Regions from separate parts of the Homo sapiens genome. Here region 2 is linked to region 1. The links are contacts of gene promoters, found by promoter capture Hi-C in blood cells and fetal thymus (Javierre and others, 2016). All regions are on one chromosome and are shown on one strand. The core of a region is centred on a gene start or on the middle of the fragment in contact, and the rest is flanking DNA. Distances in the headings are between cores, read along the strand shown. Region 1 holds the start of IGFBP2 (insulin like growth factor binding protein 2). Region 2 overlaps RPL37A (ribosomal protein L37a).

Region 1 (3,040 bases), core at 1-2,500:
CGGCGATCGGGCTTAAGTTACATTGATTCAGCTGCTAGGAGACCCCTCGCCTACCAAATGCCTCCCTTTTATTTTTCCATTCAACGTGGTAGCAAGAGCCCTGCTCGTTCCCTATGGAGAAATAGTAGTGGTGGTTTTCATTTTTCTCCTAAGCGACTCATCCTACAAAGTACCAAGTCCTTTCTTTCCAACTCACAACCCCAGTAGAAGGAAGGGCCCCTTGGGACGCCGGTGCCTCCTCCTAGCTCCCTCTCCTCTTCCAAGGTTCCTGGTGTCACTGGCACCCCGCAGCCTCCGCCTCCCAGCAGCGATCCCACCAGGACCCTTGGGTCCTCAAGCAGTGCCCCAAATAAGATTCGAGTTCCTACTCCCATGGATCTGACCACCGGCCCCCTTCTCAGCAAATCCCTCCTCCAGAATAGAAGTCTGGGTCCGTTCCACGCGGGTAAAACTATGGCAGCAGGGATGCCTTTCCTCTCCCCATTCATCCCCACCAAATGAGTCGCCAGGGCTCTTCCACTTGCTCTAACTCCAGTTCCCCTCCCCGGGCCTGACTTCCGCGTCCCGCTAGCAACAGTCCCCCTTGATTTGGTCCAAGGTCTCGGCTCTGCCGCCCCTAAAACCGTCCGTAAGGTCCAGCCGCCCGTCGGGCTTCTCCGCTGCCCTCCAAGTTTCTCCCAACTACTTGTTCCAGACCGCGTTACCTGCAACCTGCTCCGGGCTGGCGCCATACTCGGCGTCCCGGCGCTTCTCACAAGTGCCCTCGCCCATGACCAGCGCCTGCAGGGGCAGCTCGGAGCCCGGGTGGGGATAGCAGCGCAGCCCCTGGCCGCAGCGCGGGGTGTAGACGCCGCACGCCTCGCCCTCCAGCCGGGCGCACACCGAGCAGCAGCCGCAGCCCGGCTCCCGGACGAGCTCCGCGCATGGCATGCGGGCGCCTCCGGCCACTGCGGCCACCGCGGCGGGCGGCGCAACCGGCGGGGGCCCGCAGGCGGCCAGGCGCTCGGGTGTGCAGGGCGGGCAGCGGAACAGCACCTCCGCGCGCGCCCCGCCGCCGCCGCCACTCGCGCCCAGTAGCAGCAGCAGCAGCGGCAGCAGCGGCGGCGGCGGCAGCGGCAGCGCGGGGCAGCCCACTCTCGGCAGCATGCTGGCGGTCGGCAGCGCGGCGCGGCGGGCGAGCGAGCGAGCGGGCGGGCGGGCAGGTGGCACGGCCCTGCGAGCGCGGGAGCCGCCTCCTCCGCTTCTTCCTCCTCCCTCGCCGCCGCAGCCGGGTCCTAAAGGGCCGGCTTCTCCCCGCCCCCTGCCTTCTCCCCTCCCCCTTTTGGAGACCACTCCCTTCCCCCCCGACACTCCCTCGCGCCGGCAAGTGAGTGCGCGCACGCCCGCTCGCCCACCTCCGCGTTGGCTGCGGGCTCTGGGGGTTCCCTGCTCTTCCCGGGCCCCGTCCCTCCGCACTCTTCTGGCCTGACTATGACTCCTGAAGGAGAATACGGATAACTCGCGGGTTTGGGTAGGACCGGCGTGGCGGTGGAGAAGAGCGCGTGCTTTTGTCTGCTCTCAGTTCAGTTCGCGAGGACTTCGTTTGCGCGCTTCCCCTGTGGCCGGCACTGGGCTAACCGCTGGGGAACACAAAAGACATAAGGCTCCGTTTTGACCTTCAAGTAGATTTCAGTCGGCTCATACCAACTCCTTCCATCCTGGGGTATCACCCACCACTGACACGTGGCTTGGAACAATGACTTCTTGTTGGGTGGGTCCTGCGGAGTTTCAGACCCGTCTAGACCAAGCTAGACCCAAACAGCCCCGAATGGTCTTAGTGACTATTGCAGTTTTCCAAACCTGGGAGCTCGTGACTACAACCTATGAGAACCCTAAGTGCCCCGCAAAACCTGCCCCCTTCGTCTGCAGACCCCCTCCCTTCTCCGCCCGCTAAAATAATCCCTTAGCACCCTGGGCCCCCACCTACAAATCTCGAGGCACTTGTTGCAGGACAGATCCCAGAACACTCAGTTGCAGGGGTCTTGGAGAGGTCAGATCAGCTCTCCAGGTGTGACAGACCCGCTCTGGGGTAAGGCCATTTATGGCTGTCTTCAATAATGCAGATGGACAAGCATGACCTCCTTTCATTGTTCTGTTTGATTTACTGAGTCATCTACCCAAGCTGCCCCCAACCCCCATCATTCCAGGCTGGACTCAGCCATAATCAACCATCTCCTGGGGTGTGACCCTAACAAAGACCCCTGTCAGAGAGATTCCTTGGGTGACAGGTGGACCATTAAGCTGCCTCCACCGCAGGTTTCATCTCCCTATACCTCAGCGCCCCTCTTCCCCCCAGACCCCTCCACTCTGGCTCTTTCTGACTTCAAGGCTCAGAGCCTGTTTGATTCAGTTCAACAGCTAGTTAACCCAATGGCCACCTGGCTCTGAAGGTGACCTAGATGCCTCCAGGAAGGCAAGTACCTGGTCTTAAGACGCCAAGCTGGGAAGAGTTATCGGGAAAGACTTTGGTAAGATAAAAAATAAATAAATAAATGTTTATCAGAGGCTTTGAAGAAAAGAAATATTTTGGTAGAGAGGTGATGTGGTGGTTGAGGAAAGGGGAGTTTCTTGGGTGAGTCGGAGCTGAAATTGAAGCTTGTAATTCTACCAGAGGAAATGGGCGGTTAGCAAGGGCACAGGCAGAGGGACCACCTGAAGCAAAAACACAGAAATGGGGCCGGGCGCGGTGGCTCACACCTGTAATTCCAGCACTTTGGGAGGCCGAGGCAGGTGGATCACCTGAGATCAGGAGTTCAAGACCAGCCTGGCCAACCGTGGCCAACATGGTGAAATCCCATCTCTACTAAAAATACAAAAAATAGCCAGGCACGGTGATGCACGCCTGTAGTCCCAGCAACTTGGGAGGCTGAGGCAGGAGAATCGCTTGAACCCAGGAGGTGGAAGTTGCAGTGAGCCAAGATCGCACCACTGCACTCCAGCCTGGGTGACAGAGTAAGAATCAGTCTCAAAACACACACACACACACACACACACACACACA
Region 2 (3,040 bases), core at 1-2,500, 130 kb after region 1:
TCTTCAGCCCTATCTACATCACCTGCCTCCCTATCATCTTGGGAAAATCACTATTTCCTTAGGTATAAAAATATTTATCTCAGCACTTTCACTGGTCTGTAAACTGTCCCCCGCCCTTTCCTCTTTTAACTGTCATAAAAAAGCAATACATGGCTGGGTGAGGTGGCTTACAGAATCCCAGCACTTTGGGAGGCCAAGGCAGACGTTATCAGTTGAGCCTGGGAGTTTGAGACCAGCCTGGTCAACATGGCGAAAGCCCATCTCTACTAAAAATAAAAAATACAAAAACTAGCTGAGCTTTGTGGCATAAGCCTGTAATCCCAGCTACTTCGGAGGCTGAGGCACGAGAACTGCTTGAACCCGGGAGGTAGAGGCTGCAGTGAACTGAGATCATGCCACTGCACTTCAGCCTGGGTGACAGACACTCTCTCAGAAAACAAACAAAAAGCAGTACTTCACTGATTATAAAAACCGAAGTTTTCCATGCCTAATCATGTAACATAGCAGCTTTGTAAGACTCCAAATTAATAATCCAAACACCCAGCATATACTCCATTCTACTACCAAGAATTATACAGGAAACTGAAGCAGAGAGGTTAAGTCACTTAACCCAAGTCACCCAACTATCTAGGCAGTTTGGCTAAGTTGGTGTTCTTAACCGCAGCATTAGACCATCTAATGCTCATTCAATTCCCTATGCTTACATGAAATCCTGGTCACTCACCTGGAGATCCTATGGAGAATTCTCCAGGAGATTCACCTGGAGAGCTGTGTCATTCCTATGAAGCCTGAAAATCCTGACTTGTCACTCCTGGTCCTACCCCTACTGACCCACAGTACTTGCTTCACATTACAAAATCAGTAGGAGTACCATTTTGTGACACAAATGAGATCCACAGATGAGTTACTGCTATGGATCTAGCAAATGCCTGACCCAGTGAAGTATTCTCCTGGGGTAGCGATGTTTCTGCCAGAGGCAATGCAGGAGGTACAGGTGAAGGGAGACATCCGTGCAAAGGCCAGTAATGAGCAAAAAAACAAGTTATAGAAGATAGGGGTCAGACCAAGTGAAATAAAGGTTTTTACTCTGTCCTAAAGATGAAGTAAATCCACATTCTTATCGAATTAAATTTGCATCCTTAAAGGACTACTGACTCTGGGATAGATAAAAGACATACCAATTAGGAGGACTGAGAAGTCCATACCACAGATGGTTGAGGAGTTAGACTAAATTGGCAGTGAATTAAGTGCATAAAAGTGTCAAAGGCAGGCCTAAAATAACTCGAATTCTCCAAGGCAATTCATTTTTTTGTTACTACAACCATCTGTCAATCTGAAATCAATCCTACGAATCCTTACGTGCAAACTAAAAACTGGAGAATTGCAGACGTTTGCAACATTTAATGTGAAATTAGTTTCATACTGTTTCCTGAAGATGCTGATGGTGTAGGTCAAATGAAACATCATAGAAGAGGCAGTATATGTATATCCTTTAGTATATCTTTTACCTTCAGAAACTTTTTTTTGGAGACAGAGTGTTGTCCTGGCTAAATAAAGTGCAGTGGCACGATCCTGGCCCACTGCAACCTCCGCCTCGTAGGTTCAAGTGATTCTTGTGCCTGAGCCTCCAAAGTAGCTGGGATTACAGGCATGTGCCACCATACCAAGCTATTTTTTGTATTTTTCGTCGAGACGGGTTTTTGCTATGTTGGCCACACTGGTCTCAATCTCCTGGCCTCAAGTAATCCACCTGCCTCAGCCACCCAAAGTGCTGGGATTTCAGGCGTGAGTCACCGCACCCAGCCTAGACACATTATAAAAATATTAAATGCAAGGCTGGGCGTGGTGGCTCACACCTGTAATCCCAGCACTCTGGAAGGCCAAGGCAGGTGGATCGCTTGAGGTCAGTTCAAGAACAGCCTGGCCAATGTGGTGAAAACTCCATCTCTACTCAAAATACAAAAATTAGCCAGGTATGGTGGTGCGTGCCTGTAATCCCAGCTACTCAGGAGGCTGAGGCAGGAGAATCGCTTGAACCTAAGAAGTGGAGGTTGAAGTGGGCCAAGACTGGTATACTGCACTCCAGCCTGGGTAACAGAGACTCCGCCTCAAAAACAAACAAAAAAACTAACTGTAATTTAAAAACTAAAGTTTACAGTTGGCTCCAATGTATCTCAAAGTCAAACTGGCAGGAGCAGACTTATAAAAAGCTAACACTCATATCTAACTTGGAAGACTTATATTCTTATGCTGCATTTTACCATTTGACTACTAAAAAAGACACTGAATTACAATAATCCATCTTGGCATGCTTTTCCAATACAACAGTATTTACACAATGCAAACATCAGAATGTCTAATAAAGTTAACAAGCCAAGGCAATTTTGTTACATAAATTAACCCATTTATTATAGGCCAGTGATGTCTCAAAGAGTAGAGGAGCGTCTACTGGTCTTTCAACTCCTTCAGTCTTCTGATGGCGGACTTTACCGTGACAGCGGAAGTGGTACTGGAAAGAAAGATTCAGTTTCCAACATAATTAAGCATGTTAACATAGAAAATGGCAAATAAGTAAATCTGCCTCGTTTTTGTGTTAAAGTCGCTTCCCAAATTTTCCTAGAAAGAATTATACTGAGATAGACTGCTCTACCAATACTTTGCTGCAGTCAATCCAAAGATCTAACCAACATTAGATTACTCCTCGGAAATTAGTGGCTTCTAAACTACATGATGGCATCCTTTAAGAGCCATGCCTTCAGGATCTTGCAGAATTAGACATACAATCTCATGCATCTGATTTCTCAACCAGAGTTGCTTTTTTTTTTATAAGTAACTCAGTTGTGGACAAGCAAGCTTTAACTCCCCCTACCCCATCCCATGAAAAAGAAATGGTTCTAAGAGGCTGACCTAAACTTATTAAAAGGGAATGGACAGATTACAAGAAATGAATAAATTACAAGATGATACAGTGAGAACAATGATTAAGGAAATAAGAGCGGACACTAAAGTGCCTTTGGGAAAGACAGCTATTGAAATGACT

Evidence for each region. Contacts are between HindIII fragments. The CHiCAGO score rates a contact against its expected background, and 5 or more counts as called.
Region 2: a contact is called between a fragment that was not itself captured here and the fragment with the promoter of IGFBP2 in region 1, in 1 of 17 cell types (fetal thymus). The highest score is 5.2, in fetal thymus.

Annotation. Positions count from the first base shown.
Region 1 is chr2:216,631,630-216,634,669 of GRCh38, reverse strand. IGFBP2 (insulin like growth factor binding protein 2) reads right to left here and starts at 1,250. Exons shown (of 4, transcript NM_000597.3): 1 at 705-1,250. The coding sequence starts at 1,146. The HindIII fragment of the contact is 7,523 bases long and covers 1-2,636 here.
Region 2 is chr2:216,500,810-216,503,849 of GRCh38, reverse strand. RPL37A (ribosomal protein L37a) reads right to left here. Exons shown (of 4, transcript NM_000998.5): 4 at 1-2,509. The coding sequence ends at 2,446. Among named protein-coding and RNA genes, the nearest start is that of RPL37A, 3.5 kb to the right of the region's middle. The HindIII fragment of the contact is 3,211 bases long and covers 1-2,855 here.